Regions from separate parts of the Homo sapiens genome. Here all the other regions are linked to region 1. The links are contacts of gene promoters, found by promoter capture Hi-C in blood cells and fetal thymus (Javierre and others, 2016). All regions are on one chromosome and are shown on one strand. The core of a region is centred on a gene start or on the middle of the fragment in contact, and the rest is flanking DNA. Distances in the headings are between cores, read along the strand shown. Region 1 holds the start of ATP1A1 (ATPase Na+/K+ transporting subunit alpha 1). Region 2 has its middle 64 kb from the start of TENT5C. Region 3 overlaps LINC01765 (long intergenic non-protein coding RNA 1765).

Evidence for each region. The method cuts DNA at HindIII sites, captures the fragments that hold promoters and counts their contacts. A CHiCAGO score of 5 or more calls a contact.
Region 2: a fragment that was not itself captured here is called in contact with the fragment with the promoter of ATP1A1 in region 1 in 1 of 17 cell types (activated CD4 T cells); the score reaches 6.8 in activated CD4 T cells.
Region 3: a contact is called between a fragment that was not itself captured here and the fragment with the promoter of ATP1A1 in region 1, in 1 of 17 cell types (activated CD4 T cells). The highest score is 6.8, in activated CD4 T cells.

What each region holds. Positions count from the first base shown.
Region 1 is chr1:116,370,133-116,375,201 of GRCh38, forward strand. ATP1A1 (ATPase Na+/K+ transporting subunit alpha 1) reads left to right here and starts at 3,112. Exons shown (of 23, transcript NM_000701.8): 1 at 3,112-3,391. The coding sequence starts at 3,380. RefSeq lists silencers at 2,739-3,268, 3,699-3,998 and an enhancer at 4,369-4,488. The HindIII fragment of the contact is 4,966 bases long and covers 1,565-5,069 here.
Region 2 is chr1:117,667,365-117,672,433 of GRCh38, forward strand. No RefSeq gene overlaps it. Among named protein-coding and RNA genes, the nearest start is that of TENT5C, 64 kb to the left of the region's middle. The HindIII fragment of the contact is 5,640 bases long and covers 67-5,069 here.
Region 3 is chr1:115,100,454-115,105,522 of GRCh38, forward strand. LINC01765 (long intergenic non-protein coding RNA 1765) reads left to right here. Exons shown (of 2, transcript XR_947722.3): 2 at 1,795-2,228. Among named protein-coding and RNA genes, the nearest start is that of LINC01765, 3.3 kb to the left of the region's middle. The HindIII fragment of the contact is 6,588 bases long and covers 1-4,544 here.

The DNA of each region.
Region 1 (5,069 bases), core at 1,862-4,361:
GTTTCCATGCTAACTCGGGAGCACACAAAGCCAAAGAAAATTCTGTCCTTCCAGATCTCTAGCTCATAGATCCCCAAAATTTTTGTGTCCTATGGAAAATGCTAAGTTGGTGTGGGCTCCAACTCATATTTTAAAGCCTTTAATTGCAATGATGTGTTTATTCAATTCAGCAAATACTCAAAGTGCTAGCGTTCTTGGCTCAAAAAACTGACTTGCATCATATTTTTCATACATCTGCTGACTCTATTCACAATGACTGGAGCAACCATCCACAGTTGTGATCAAATTCTCCTCGAAGCTATCCATACTTGGCAGCCTTAAGGTCTATAAATGCTGAGTCTCCAGGCCAATCAGTTTAACTGTGCCCCAAGTTAGAAGCTTGAAAAGAGTTGATAGGATAAGCAGCAGACAGAATAGAGAGCCTTTGCTTTCTTCACCCTCTCTTCTAGAATCCAAATTTGTCCCCTGCACTGGAGTTAGAAAAGCTACCTGAAAGTCTTGCCACTATTCTTGGAATATTCAATACCAATTACTCCCTGGGCCTCAGTTTCTTCATCATAAAATGAGGGAGCTTGATGTTTCATCTATAAGGTTTCATTTCATTCAGAAGCCACTCTTCCAAGGGAAGAAAAGAAGGCTTTTTCTTAAAAAAAAAAAAAAAAAAGGACTTTTCCTCCTTTGCTTACCCATTTTCCAAGGTGTCTCTCTCATATCTGAGATTTCCTTCTGCGCCTCAGACTTGGTCATGCCTTACCTTTTTCTTTACCTCAAAGACTTGTGAGAATTCAAGGGCACTGTGCATCTGAAATTACTGTGTGGCATCAAAAGCAAAATACAGATTTAAGATAATGTTTCTTATATTTTTTGCCCTTTCTTCACACCGGAACACAGCTAGAACTCTGGGATCCTCCTGAAAGGACCTTCAGCAATTTTCAGTTGCCAAATAAATAGCTCTAGATACAAAGGGAAGTGCCTTGATCTATCAGGGTTATTTTGTTGAGTGAATGAATGAGAATTTTACTTATGAGGGGAGAAAAAGGAGATCAGCTGGCAGGAGAAATCTACGTTGTTCCGACCCGTGCTTTATATATTTAGTTGTTGCCGCGGCACTTTTCCCATTCAGACCAGGGCCCAAGGAGTAATTAATCTTTGTTTTTATTTTTATTTATTTATTTTTTTGAGATGGATCCTCACTCTGTCACCAGGCTGGAGTGCAGTGGCGCCATCTCAGCTCACTGCAACCTCCGATTCTGTGGTTCAAGCGAATCTCCCGCCTCAGTCTCCCGAGTAGCTGGGATTACAGGCATGTGCCACTACGCCCAGCTAGTTTTTTTTTGTATTTTTAGTGGAGACGGGGTTTCACCAGGTTGGCCAGGATGGTCTTGATCTCCTGACCTCATGATCCGCCCGCTTCGGCCTCCCAAAGTGCTGGGATTACAGGCGTGAGCCACAGTGCCTGGCCCAGGAGTAATTAATCTTAAACAAGCTATCTTTAGCAAGCAAAAGCATCTTACAAAGTACAGTAACTGAGGCTATCAAGCATGTAAAGAAAGCATTTTCTAGAAGCTTAGAGATGGATCCCCGAACACTCTGTAACCCTCTGTTAACAGTCTAAGGAATTCTGTTCTGAATTTGGGGGCTCTTCTCCAGGCAGTCAGGGTTTTGAATTCTATTTACAATTCCTCTGCTCTCTATGGCCTAGAATGATTGAACCAAGTCTCTAGATCACTGTAGGAGACATCAACCTTTAACAATACATTCTTGAGGAGAAGAGACTCGTGTAAGAAACTATCTTGTAAGAAGGGATGAGAATTACCCTAATGATGTAACTGACAACACAGTTTCTAGTTTTTCCTTTCTTTCCTTCCTTCTCCATTTTTTCCAGTTTCATATCCTTGTTTGTTCATGCTACATGAATACTTGAAGTTGATAGAGTTGGCTTTAACTTAGGAACCTTTGCTTAGAAAGTCAATATCCTGGCCTTTCCCAGAGTACTTGACTTCCTGCAAACCTTGTTAATAATACTTTGTTTTTTAAAATGTTGGAGAACTTCAGCCATTGCAGCCTCTTGCTAAGAAGCAAAAGCTATAATGACAGAGAAGCCCCAAAGTGCAGTGGAACCAGGGATCTCCGGGGAGAGTGGTGGTTTCCTGGGCCCCCCCAGAGAACCCAAGGCTGTGCTGGAGATGCTGCCGTGACAGGTGGAGGCGTGGAGAGGCACCTGGCAAGTCCTCAAACGCCTCCCCCTTGATTTAGCTCCTCTAGCTAAGGATACGCATTCCTTTGGGTTTCAGGTTTTTCTTCCCTAAAAAGAGAATCCCCAAACTGGACAAGCAGGTTACATTCACACAATAGCGTGAATGAATTCGCTGGTCGCCCTTCAGATTCTCATTTTGGAATCTCGAAGAAAGAGAGGTGGTGGGAGGAGGGCGCTTGAAACTTCTGGCGATGCCAGTTCAGATCGATTCCAGCTATGACGGAGCGGGAAGTGGATAAAGAGGACCCCAAGTCACAGGAGGCACTCTGAGAGCACCAAGCGCCCGGGGAGGCCATCCGCAGGTGGGCGCGGGGCCTGGATTCCACAGAGGGGCGGAGTCCCTCAGTCAGGCGCTGGCTGCAATCACACCCGAGCGCCAGCCCCCTCCAGCATCCCTGAGTCCCAGAGGAGATCGCCGAAGCGCTGGAAAAGCCGTTCCGCCCACGACTTCTGGTGCCGGGTCGGCGGCGACTGGGGGAGCCCAGTTCCGAGACCGTACCGCACCCACTGCGGACCTCCTGGGCCCTACATAGTAGGCGGGTCATGCAGGGCAGCGGGAGGAGGGGCGTGGGAGGGCCAAGGCCGCCGAGTCCCCGCTGTTCAGCCAGCAGGAGCGCCCCGCAGCCCTCCCGGGACACGGTGGACACGCTTGTCCCAGACCTGGGCGCCCTCCTGCCGGGAGCCAGGACTGGCCGCAGCAGGCGCTGTCCGGGCCCGTGGGCGGGGTTTCGGGAGGGGGCGGAGCCAGGCCCACGGCCGGTGTCAGGTTGCTCCGGTAACGGTGACGTTTCGCGGCGTGGGCGGGGCCAGCACGCAGGTTGCATATTTTAGGAAGTGAGGAGGAGGCGCGGGCTGGAGCTGCGGCGGGGTCTGGGGCGCAGAGCAGCGGCGGGAGGAGGCGGACACGTGGCAACAGCGGTAGCAGCCCGGGCGGCGGCAGCAACAGCGGCGGCGGCATCGGCCCGAGCCGCCGGCCGCCCTCCCACCCTCCCGCCCCGCGGCAGCCCTAGCTCCCTCCACTTGGCTCCCCTGGTCCCGCTCGCTCGGCCGGGAGCTGCTCTGTGCTTTTCTCTCTGATTCTCCAGCGACAGGACCCGGCGCCGGGCACTGAGCACCGCCACCATGGGGAAGGGGGTGAGTGTCCGGCGCGCCCGGGGAGGGGGCTCGGGGAGCCCTCGAGGGGAAGAGGAGGAAGTCGGGAGGGCGACCGCGGCCAGCGGGAGGCGGCGGAGGAGGAAGCGGCGCCGCGTGGAGTGGGCTGGCAGAGCCGCGCGGCTTAAAAGACGACGCAGTTTGGAAATGGAGGGAGCGCAGTAACGGGGGGCGGGGGAAGGGAGCGCCGAGGGGCTGGAGCGCGGCATTGCTTAGGGGGGTGGGCGGACCCTGGGCGGGGGCTGCGCGCCCCGGAGGCCGAGCGGGCCGGGGGCTCCGAGAGGCGGTGCTTGGGAAGCCTCGGGGCCGGGAGGAGGGGGCTTGCAGCAGCGGGGGCGGCCCCGGGACTGAGCCGGCATCCCTGAGCCTGGCTCCCCTCCCTGCGACCGCCGTCACCTCCTTCTCCTTCCTTTTCCCTCCGCCCTCCGTGCCCTGAGGAAAGGCGCGCTCCTCCCCTTCCCCTGGGGCGCTCCGCCGGGGCCTCCTCCCGGGCCTCCGTTCCCGCCGCGGCCCCGGTTCCGGCGGGGGCAGCCTCCGGGTTCGGGGCTCCTTCTCCTGGGGACGCTGGGGCTTAGCTTGCTCCGCGCAGAGGCGGCCGCCCTCCCCCAAAGAAAAAACTGGCTGCTTCTAAGTGCGAAGCCGGCTGGGCGGGCTGGTGCCAGAAAGGGTGTGTCTTCACTGCCCTAAGATGGCCTTTAAGGTATACTTTTGAGGGCTTTCTTGGGCCACTTTCCGTAAACACAGGATGCACCGATGGCAACTGGAGTTGTCATCCGATGGTGGGGAGAGGCGTGCAGATTTTTTTTGAAGGGACGAGCCCTGAAGGAGGATAGGCAGACCCACCAGGGCCTCAGGGTACAAGAAACCCGAAAAAGGACTGGAGGCTGCAGGCAATACGGTGGTAGGAATCTCTGCCGGTTTCCAGCGTCGCGGAAGCACCAAAGGGCGGTCCCTGAAGGAAACGAGGGGTCTTGGGGCTGGAGAGCGGCGCGGAGCGTGGTGGGAATATCGTCACAACGCCGCTGTCCTACATTTCTGTAGCGAAGACTTGATTACCCCTAGCTATTACCCGTGCAGGAGACTGGGCCCTGGACCCCAAATGAGCCAAAGTCTAGTTGAGAAAAATTTACACAGAATAACCTCGGAGTTCATGGGGTGAAAGTGACCATGTCATGAGAATACAAATGGGAGAGAATCCACTTCGTTGTCTCCAGGGTTTAGCACAGTGCAGACACTGAGTAGGTCTTTGAAGGCCCTGAGGCTTCTGGGTGTAGACAGAGTGTCGGGAGCAGAGGGAGGCTGCACTCCTTGGGGACTCTAAGGGAGTTTTAAAGGAGGTAATTGAAAGGCTTGGACCTGGTGGGGAGAACAGGCACAAGTGGAAATGCACAACTCGCCTCGCTTTTAAAAGCATGCAGCGTGGAGGGCTGGTCCAGGTCAGGTGGCATCAAAGAGCGGAGTACAGGGCCTCTCCATTCCCCTGATGGAGTCTGGGTTAGTGGCCTGTGCTTTTACCACACCGTCAAACCCTTGATCATTTCTGTAAACATGCACTTTAAAGCTCATTCTTTGTCTCTCCTGCCTTAAAAGAAAAAGAAAAAAGTTTACTTCCTGAGCTAATTTTGGGGGGTTTAGACATCACAGATGTGTGCCCCAAGCC
Region 2 (5,069 bases), core at 1,637-4,136, 1.3 Mb after region 1:
AATTTGACCCAGGAAAGTCAAAGTTGGAAGAATTAAAGGCCTATGTACATCTATCACCATGAAAAAAGCTTTATTCAGTACAATTTGGTGTGAACAAAACAAACAGATCAACCAGTGAAACTGGTACTATACAATGCCAAAGGAAGAAAAGAATAGATGGCAAAAATAATTCTGATAACATAAAAGTGAAAGTCAAAAAAATAGGAAACTATTGAATTGCCTTGCATTAGAAAATTGATGAAGGAAATAAATTGGCTCAACAGAGTTTATGCTGGAAAATATTTTCTTAACAGGAAAATATCCCCAGGATGAAGATGATGGGTTTGTAACACCCACTGTGTTCTTCTATTTCTCTGCATTTTTGTTCAAGGCCATCCTTTTGTCTAGAAGATGCTCTTCTGACTTGGCCTCCTCCCAACTTCTACTCACCCCTTGGTGAACTCGTGTCATCTCCTCTATGAAGACTTCCCTGCAACCCAAGGCACCTTCTCTGTACCTTCTTTGCACTCCCACTATCCCTTGCACATCTTTTATGTGGCTTGACTGTGTTGTATTTTTTGTTTTTTTCGAGATACAACTTCCCTCTGTGGCCCAGGCTGGAGTGCAGTGGTGTGATCATAGCTCACTGCAACCTCACACTTGTGGGCTAAAGTGATCCTCCTGCCTCGGCCTCTAAAGTACTGGGATCACAGATGTGAGCCGCTGGGCCTGGCTGATTGTGTTGTATTAAACAGGCATCTGTCTATGGGCTTGAACTCTTCCATGTATCTTGATGTATTTGGTTTTTGATCACCAGTATCCAGCAGATTTTTTGGTTCAATACACATTTGTTCAATATGAGTAAGTTTTGTAAGAGGGGAGAAGAGGAGATGCACAAAGGTGACTAAGATATAGCTCCTGTCCTCAAGAAGTGCGTTCTCTGGCAAGCAGATGGCCAAGGGAAGTTTTAAAAATGGCCACAGTGGGAGGCCATGAGAGGCCCTGTGCCCAGGGACAGTGAGCTCAGAGCTGGCTGAGGGAATCTAGGATTTCTTTCTTAAAAAATACAGTGGGAAGTTGGCCAGATGCAGTGGCTTATGCCTGTAATCCCAGCACTTTGGGAGGCTGAGGTAGGAAGATCACTTGAGGCCAAGCATTTGAGACCAGTCCGGGCAACATAGAGAGACCCCCAACATCTATGTGAGCATGGTGGTGTGTGTCTGAAGGCTTAACTATTTGGGGTCCTGGCAGGTTGAGTCTGCAGTGAGCCATGATCATCACTGAACTCCAGTCTGGGCAACAGAGCAAGACCCTGTCTCAAAAAAAAAAAAAAAAAAAAAAAAAAGAAAAAGAAAAAGAAAAAAAGAAAAGAAAAAAAAGGTTTCTCCCTTGCATGATAACTTTTAAAAAATGAAAAATTTAGACAAAATAGAAAATCACTCATATTTCTATCACATAATGTAACTATTTTTTTAAACTTCTTTCTCTGTAAGTTTTGGGGATTGAAAAAAACTTTTTATTTTGAAATGATTATAAATTCACAGAAAGCTGCAAGAACAGTACAGAGATGTCCTGTGTACCCTTCACTCAATTTTCCCCAATGGGGACATCTTACATGTGTATAATACAGCCTCAAAGCCAGGGAAGTGACATTGGTCCAATCCCCAGATCTTATTCAGATTCCACCAGTTTTACATGGTAGAGCTTTTTGCTAACAGAGTTATAATGGGCTTATATGTGTGGTCCATATCTTATTTCTTGAATTAACTTTATCTCATGCAGCTTTTTAAACATTATTGCATAAATCATTTATAAGGTCTACATAATGAACATTCACCCACCTCAAGTAGCAGTTGGCTAAGTTTGTCCCCCGCTTCTGATGTTTCCATTACTTCCAGTTACACTGTTAGGAACAATGCTTCTGTATTTTATATTCTTCTTATATACATCTATGTTTTATATTCTTAGAATAAATTATCTAAAGAAGAAAGGAAGGAGATACAGGATGATAAATGCTTAAGGGGGCTATGTAATACTTTTTTCTTAAGATAGGAAAGAATTAAACATACATTGGTTTTGGGTCTGACCAAGTACAGAGGGAGCAGTGGAAGATACAGGGGAGAGGTCTTCTGACTGGAAAACACATAGGAGGGGATGGGGACACGGGAGGCTGAGAGCATTCATGTCCTCAATTTTTTACCCTTCCCTGTCTGCAAGCCGTTTGCCATGTAACTTTGGAGTTCTTCCCATAAAAGCACAGTATTTATTTCCCTACTCTGCAGGGCTTGCTTTGGCATGCAGAATGAAGCAAAGGGTCAGTGTGCCAGTTCTGAGCCTAGGCCTCAAGGGGCATTGAGCGTTTCCAGGGCTCTCTCTTGAGCCTCTGTCATAGATATGAAAATGCACCCGAGCCAGCCTGTTGGAGGTGAGAGACCAGGGAGCAGTGCGCGATCTCCCCAGCTGCCTCTGCCAAGGGTGGCCTAGATCAGCCAACAGCCCGCAGCCCCTCACACGTGATGTGTCCAGCCCAAATCAGCAAAGCTGCCTGACTGACCCGAAGCACAGAAGTGGTAAAGTTTATTATTGTATGTCATTGAGGTACAGATGACTTTTCACCTGGGAACTTTGCAGCAGAAGCTGACTGATACATGGTGCTCAGGATAGAGGTAGAGGGAAAGAAGGAAAAGAGGTTTCAGATCTAGGTAAGTCCAGGCATTACAGAAAGAGCTGCTTTTCTGTGGATGTGGTCGTGTTCTTTGCAAAGACTATTTCTTTTCTGCCTCTGATGGTGGGTGGGCAGAGGATGACCATGCATCTTAAATGAGCCACTTAAACTGAGGAATTAAACTCTTTTTTTTTTTTTTAAGATGGAGTCTTGTTCTGTCGCCCATGCTGGAGTGCAGTGGTGTGATCACAGCTCACTGCAAGCTCCACCTCCCAGGTTCAAGCAATTCTCCTGTCTCAGCCTCCCGAGTAGTTGGGACTACAGGCATGCGCCACCACACTCAGCTGATTTCTGTATTTTTAGTAGAGACAGGGTTTCACCATATTGATCAGGCTGGTCTCAACCTCTTGACCTCAGGTGATCCGTCTGCCTCGGCCTCCCAAAGTGCTGGGATTACAGGCGTGAGCCACCACGCCTAGCTAGGAATTAAACTCTTAAAGTTTTCTGTCTCAGCTACCAGGGCCAAGATGTAAGAAAAGGGAAGTTAGACTTTTGTTTAAAGAAAGCATGAGACAGGCCACCCTACGAACCAGGGCTGCCATAGACAGTGATGCAGGCTGTGCCCTGCACAAGGGCTCCTGGCCAAGGGCAGTGTGAGATGCATTCAGTGCAATGAAGCATGGATAGGAAGAACATGTCTGCATCAAAGTGCAACTTATACTCTGTGTACCAAAAAGAGTTTCACTGATAAGAATGAGGGGAAAATAGCACCTACAATTAGATACAGAATTTCCTCAGTATCAAAAAGCTAAGTTGTTTCTTTTCTGAAGCCCTTGATATACAATAAAAATAAATCTTATGCCCCACAGATAACGCTGGTTTAGTTTCGGTATCTTGGTGCCACCAGGAGCTGCGTGCTCTTTTTGAAATGATGAGAGTAGGTAAAAAGTAAGGAGTCTCTCCTGTTTCTCTTTATAGGATGGTTTTCCTGCTCTGTTAAGTGGCGCTCATCCTTCAGCTCCACACTCAAGGGGCAAGGACTCCTGTGGTTAAATATTCTGAGATCAATGCCACAGAGGGAAGCCACTCAAAGGGAAAGTCTTGGGCCTTTGGGTGTGGGGCAGGACTTTCTCGAGTTCCCGTGAGTCAGAGAGTCTCAGGAAGGGAAGGATCAGCAGAGTCATTCGGACCACCCTTTCATTTAACAAATGAGGAAAAAGAAGCCAGAGGGGGAAGGGACTGGCCCAGGGTCACGTAGCTCATAAACGACACAGCGGCAATGAAAACCCAGAGACTTTCACTTCTCTCCCTTCATTCTTTTTCTTCCATTCTCATCAAACCCGAAGAACAGGAATGGATGGTTGTTATAATACTGGTCCAGGAGGAGAGGCTTTAAATCAGAGTCCAAGGCAAAGTCCCTTTCAGAAAGCTCTGCTGGCCTGAGAGCCTTCCTCAATGCTTTGCCCACACGGCGCTGCACGATGCTGCCACGGCACCTCATGCCTCAGTGTGCTCTGGTTATATCTCAGGTCCCCCTGACCAGGAGAAATCTCCTGGAACAGTCAGAGACAGGTCACACCTCAGGCCGAACGCCCTGGGCCCAGGGTTAGGATTCACAGAATTGCGTGCTGAAACCTCCCAACAGTGGTTGAACTCTGGGTTCTGACACATGAGTGGATCAGGACCAACTGGGTCTAGATTTCTAAAATGCCTTCTGAAATGCTGCTTTTCCAGCAGTGGCAGAGAGCAGGGTGAGCAGTGAGGAGAATATAGGGAGGGGAAGACTGTGCTCTCAGACACCAGGACAGCCAGCCCAAATACACACCAGAGCCTGGGCCCAGTGGGTTCTAGTCCTGCCCTGTGTAACTTGCTGTGCAGCTTTGGGCAGATCCCCTCCCCTATCTGGTCCATGGCCTCCCAATCTGTGACATGAAGGCGTGGACCGGATGGTCACTGAGGCCCCTCCCAGCTTGGCCATATGTCCAGCCTTGAACCACGTGTAGACTCAAAGCAATTAGCCAAGAAGAGGAGTCTCCAGACAATTCCTCTTGCTCCACCCTGCCTCTGTGTCTGGTTCCTCTCCTGGCAGTTTCTATTTTCTGCTCTGTCTGGACAGAAGGGCTTGCTTGGCTCTGTCTGTCTTCCAGCCTTCCCTAGGAAATTGTCTTTGCTTGGAGCACAATGACGCACAGGGGTGCCCCCTGCCGCTCAGCTCTGTGCCATGGGCTTCCAAGGGCTACAGAACAATGGGGTGGAGGGGGAGCCTTTGGGTCAAAGTCTTGGGCAGCTGCCAGGCAGAAGGGAAGTGCAGAGGCTGGCCCTGGTGCAGGGTCACAGAGATCTCCCTTCTCTCTCTGCACTGTCTCCTTGGCCTGAGTAAGCAGAAGGTCCTGGATGCTGCAGCCACAGAGGCGGGAGGCAGAAC
Region 3 (5,069 bases), core at 1-2,500, 1.3 Mb before region 1:
TTTGACCAAATATTTGGGGCCCCCCTGGCCTAGTCAAGTTGACATGTAAAATTAACCATCACAGAGAACAAAAGAAATGTAAAACAGGTAGACTAAATTGAAAACATACAATGAGATGGTAAATTTATACCTAAATATATCAGTAACTTCTGTTGAAAATAATCAAGAAAAAGAGAGATTGCACAAATAACCAATGTCAGGAAAAAAAAAAGATTAATAACTCCAGATCTGCAGAGATTTAGATAATAATAGGATAATATAAACAACTGCAAATAAATTTGAAAGGTAGGTAAAATGGACTGATTCCTTTGAAAAGTAACATCAGAATGCACTCAATGAAAATTAGAAGTTTGAATAGCCTTGTAAGCATTAAAAAATTGTATATGATCTTTTCACAAAAACAAAAAAGTCCAGCCCAGATTGTCCTTCAGTGGTGTGTTCTGCCAAACGTTTAGGTATGAAGTAATTCCAATCTTATGCAAACTCTACCAGAGAGTAGAAAAAGAGGGAGCATTTAAAAAATACTAAAATTATGAGACTTGTAGCAAGATCTCGAAACCTAAACCTGAAAAAGACAGGACAGTAATGAAAAGGAAAATTATAGGTCAATTTCACTTATGAACATAGATGCAAAAATCTTCAGCAAAATAATAGTCAACAAAATAGTAATATCTCACTTATTTGTGGGATCTAAAAATGAAAACAATTGAACTCATGGACCTATAGAGTAGGAGGATAGTTACCAGAGGCTGGGAAAGGGAGTGGGGAGTTGGAGGGGAAGGTAGGAATAGTTAATAAGTACAAAAAAATATAGAAAGAATGAAGAAGACCTACTATTTGATAGTACAATAGGGTGACTATAGTCAATAATAACTTAATTGTACATTTTAAAATAAAGAGTGTAACTGGATCGTTTCTAACTCAAAGAACAAATGCTTGAGGGGATGGACACCCCCTTCTCCATGATGTGCTTATTTCACATTGCATGCCTGTATCAAAACATCTCATGTACACCATAAATATATACACCTACTATATACTCTCCCAAATTTAAAAAGGTATGCATTAATACATAGAAAGCCTAATACATCATGACTGTATAGGGCAGGAATACAATGTTGATTTACATTTCAATCAGTATAACCTACCACATTAATAAAGGAGAAAAATCTGTGGTCATCTCAGTAGATACAGAAAAATCTTTTGATAATTCAACATCGATTTGTTGTAAAGATTCTAGGCAACTAGGTATAGATGGGAATTCATTGCTACAAGATAACATTTTGGTGACAAGACACATTCCTGCTATCACTACTTCTACTCATCACTGTACCAGAGAGCTCAATAAGAGAAATTAAATGTATAAGGCTTAGAAAGAAAGAAAGAAAGTTGTCATTATTTGCAGATGATCTAATTGTGTGTTTATTTTGATTTTCTACATAAAATAATAGGTTACTAGAATTAATAAGAGCGCTTATTAAATTTTCTGATGATAAAAATAAATGTGAGAATATCTTTTCATTAGATCAGTAATGAATCAGAAACTAAAATTTAAAAGAACATAGCTTAAAATAGCATAAGAAGTATCTATTCTCTAGAAAAGACATGTAAGAACTTTACAGGGAAAAATTAAAGTCTTTGTTGGGTAATGTTAAGGAAGCTGTTAATGAATGGAGAGATATGCTAAGTTTGAATTAGCAAAACCGACATTTAAAAAATGTCAATTCTCTCCAATTTGATGTATAGATTCAAAGCATTTACAATAAAAAATCTTCACAAAGATATTTTTTGTAGGTTTTTCATGGCAGCATGTGACAAGATGATGCTGAAAAATTTATATGGAAATTCAAAGGATCAAGAATAGCTGAAACATCACTGAAGAAGAACAAAGTGGGCTGAACTCGCTCTACTAGATATCAAGATTTATAAGCAACTACAGTATTTAGGACAGTGTAGTATCGGCACTGGGAGAGAAAAAAAAAAAAAAAAACTAAAAGGAAAAAGAGCCCAGAGACTGACTTTTGTGTATGTGGACAGTTTGTTTATGATGAAAGTACCACTGCTATGCACTGTGGGAAAATGTCCTCAAAGAATGACACTAGGGCAACTGGGTATCCCCATGTAAAAACAATTAACCCTAATCTCACATCACACACAAAAATCAACTCCATTTGGGGTATATACTTAAATGGAAGGTAAAACTATTAATATAAAGTTTATAGAGAATATTGTTTATTGCTTTTTTGGCCCCGATTCTTCTCTCCTCCCTGTGCCCATGCCCTTTCCCAGGTGACTTTGCAGTTCCTCTCATAAAAGGGGCAGATTATGTTTTTCCTCCCTGGACTCTATGTTTGGCTTAAGTCCTTTGGTGGAAGTGACAGTGTGCCATTCTGGGCCTAGGCCTCAAGGGACCTTGAACATCTCTGCTTGCCCTCTTCCACTTATGCCATCCCCATGAGAAGGATATGCCTGATCCAGCCCACTGACCTTGACAGGGAGATGAGAGACACATGGGTAGAGTTCTCTGGTGAAGCTGCCCCAGCCAAACCCAGCCTGGAGCCAAGCCCAGCCAAGATAAAGTGAGCCCATCCTGGACCAGCTGACCCAGGCACCTGAATGAGAACAAAATAATTTTTGTTTTCCATCATTGAGCTTTGGGTACATTTGTTAGGCAGCAATAAACTAACATCAGAAGGTAATATAGGAAAATATCTATATGACTTCCAGATAGGCAAATGTGTTTTAAGCTAGTCACAAAAGTACCTGCTCACCATAAAGAAAAAGAGTTTTTATGTTAAAATTAAGAATCCTCATTTATCAGAAAATACTGTTAAGAGAGTAAAGAGGCTTGCCATAAAATGGAAGATGATATTTGCAACCATTCAACAAAAAACCAGTATCGAGAATATTTTAAAAATTCCTACACAGAATTAAGAAAAGACAGATTATTTTACATTTTATATAAAAGTCCATCCACCTTTTATATGTACCTGTTGCACATAAAAATGAGCAAAAAGACTTGAAAGAGTATTTTGCAAAAGAGTAAATCCACCTGGACAATAAACATACGATAATGTTCTGAATCCCAGAAACCAGGGAAATGTAGATTAAAGTCAACAACAAAGTGGTAGCTTAGACCCCAAGATTAAAACAGTGTCAGTGAGAAAATACCAGTTACAGAGATAGTCAGGAACCTTTAAGAAACAAGATGCTGGATGTTACATTGAAAAATATGTGCTGAGCTGTGCTGCTCTGTAACTACCTGCCCTGTTGTGAATCTGACCCACAATGCCTGTGAGAGTGGTGTTTTCTCTGGAGGATTCAAAGGAAAGGACAGTTGCCTTCTTCCTTGTGTTGCTACAGGGCAGAGAGAATACTGCAGGAGGTGAGGGGCAGAACAGAGTTTATAACCTCAACTGCAGTGTGAAAATGCTGGTTACCTCCACCATGTCTTACGGTGTAGCAGCCATATGTTTTGAGTTGGGTAGATCCCAACCACCTTCAGGGATAAGCCCTGATTGCCCTAAGCCATTCATCATAATCCCATTTCCCTGGCCTTGGATGGCTATATAACCTACATTGATTCAATCAGACTGAGGTTCTGGACTCTTGCTCAGTATTAAACACATGTATGACCTAGAAGTGCTGCAGCCATTTTGCTACTACGAGGAACCCAGTCTGAAGACAAATTGTGTACAAGGGAAGGGGCAGAGCCAAGAGAATTATGGAATGAAATCCAGTTTGATTAGATCATGCCTGAAATTTTCTAATTACTACACCTTTCAGTTATATGAACCAATGAATTTCCTTTATTTTTCAAGCCAGTTTGAGTTGGCTTTCTGCTAGTTGCAATAGAAGCATCTGTAGAAATTAGAGCAACAGGTGATGAGGAAAGATGTACTGAAATTTCCGCAGGATCTGGTGATGAGGAGAAGCACAAGTTATACCACCAAATATGGAATGGAGGCTTAATAGGTTTAAAAATAATATTAAGGGGGAAGTTTGACTGAGGAACTCTGGCAAATGCCACTTGACTGACACATATGATATCTAGTAGCTTAGTGAAGTTTAGGGATGGTTCCTTGAGAGAATCAACTAGAAAGCCTTTTAAAACTCCTTTGAAGAGAATATAAGCTCTTGAAAAGATCCCAAAGATCAATCATTTCATCAAACAGCTGGGGAAACTGAGGCCCAAAGAGGTTATGTTTTAGTTAGTACTTAAGATGGGGCCAGGTCCTGGGTGTCCAGATTTCTCATGAGGGTTCTATCAACTCATGAAAGCTCATCATCTTAGATGTGTATAATGAAAAACTTTCATTTTCATCTACTCACATTGAATCTCATTGACTCTATTTTTTCTTCCTCACCCAGCTCTAAAGATCTTTTAGGAATTTAGCAGAAAATAGGTAACTGTCAGTCAAATTTACCATCACTTGCTGATGTGGGGAATTCCTGGGGTGCCCCATGTCCAGATCAGTTATGTAAGCCCTGAGTGAGATTCATCTGTCACAGGCTCATTGCCTCCTTAGCTCCTGGTGGTTTGAAGCTTCCCTTGGATTTGGCATCTTGTCCTGGGTTCTTGCTCCTACTCTCCTTGGGGTTCAGTTCTCTCTCCTGGATTTTGAGCACAGTGGCACCAACTCCCTTATTCCTGGTGCAGGTGGAGCCGGCTCTGGCTGTGGTCGTGGATTCTGCCATGATCTCTCCAGGTCCTACCTGAGAATTTGATAGTCCTTGACTTTTCTCTTTTTACCCCCAACATGGCTTTGTCAAGCCCTGGGATTCTATCTGATGTCTACCACCTTTCTTGTCTTTAAACCACTCTTTCAATCCCCACCTCATTATCTTTTGCCTGGACCATTACAATAGTTACTAAAGGCCCTAAACCAAAAGGATCTGAAGAAATGTGCACCTTTTCTGTGGGAATAATGTAAATAATAGAATTTACTGAGCACTTAATGTGCAGAGCTCTGTTCTAATCTCATTATAGTTATTAACTCTCCAAACAACCCTATGCATTATTGCCATTTTTTAAACTGTGAAACTTAAGCACAGAGGAGTTAAGTAAC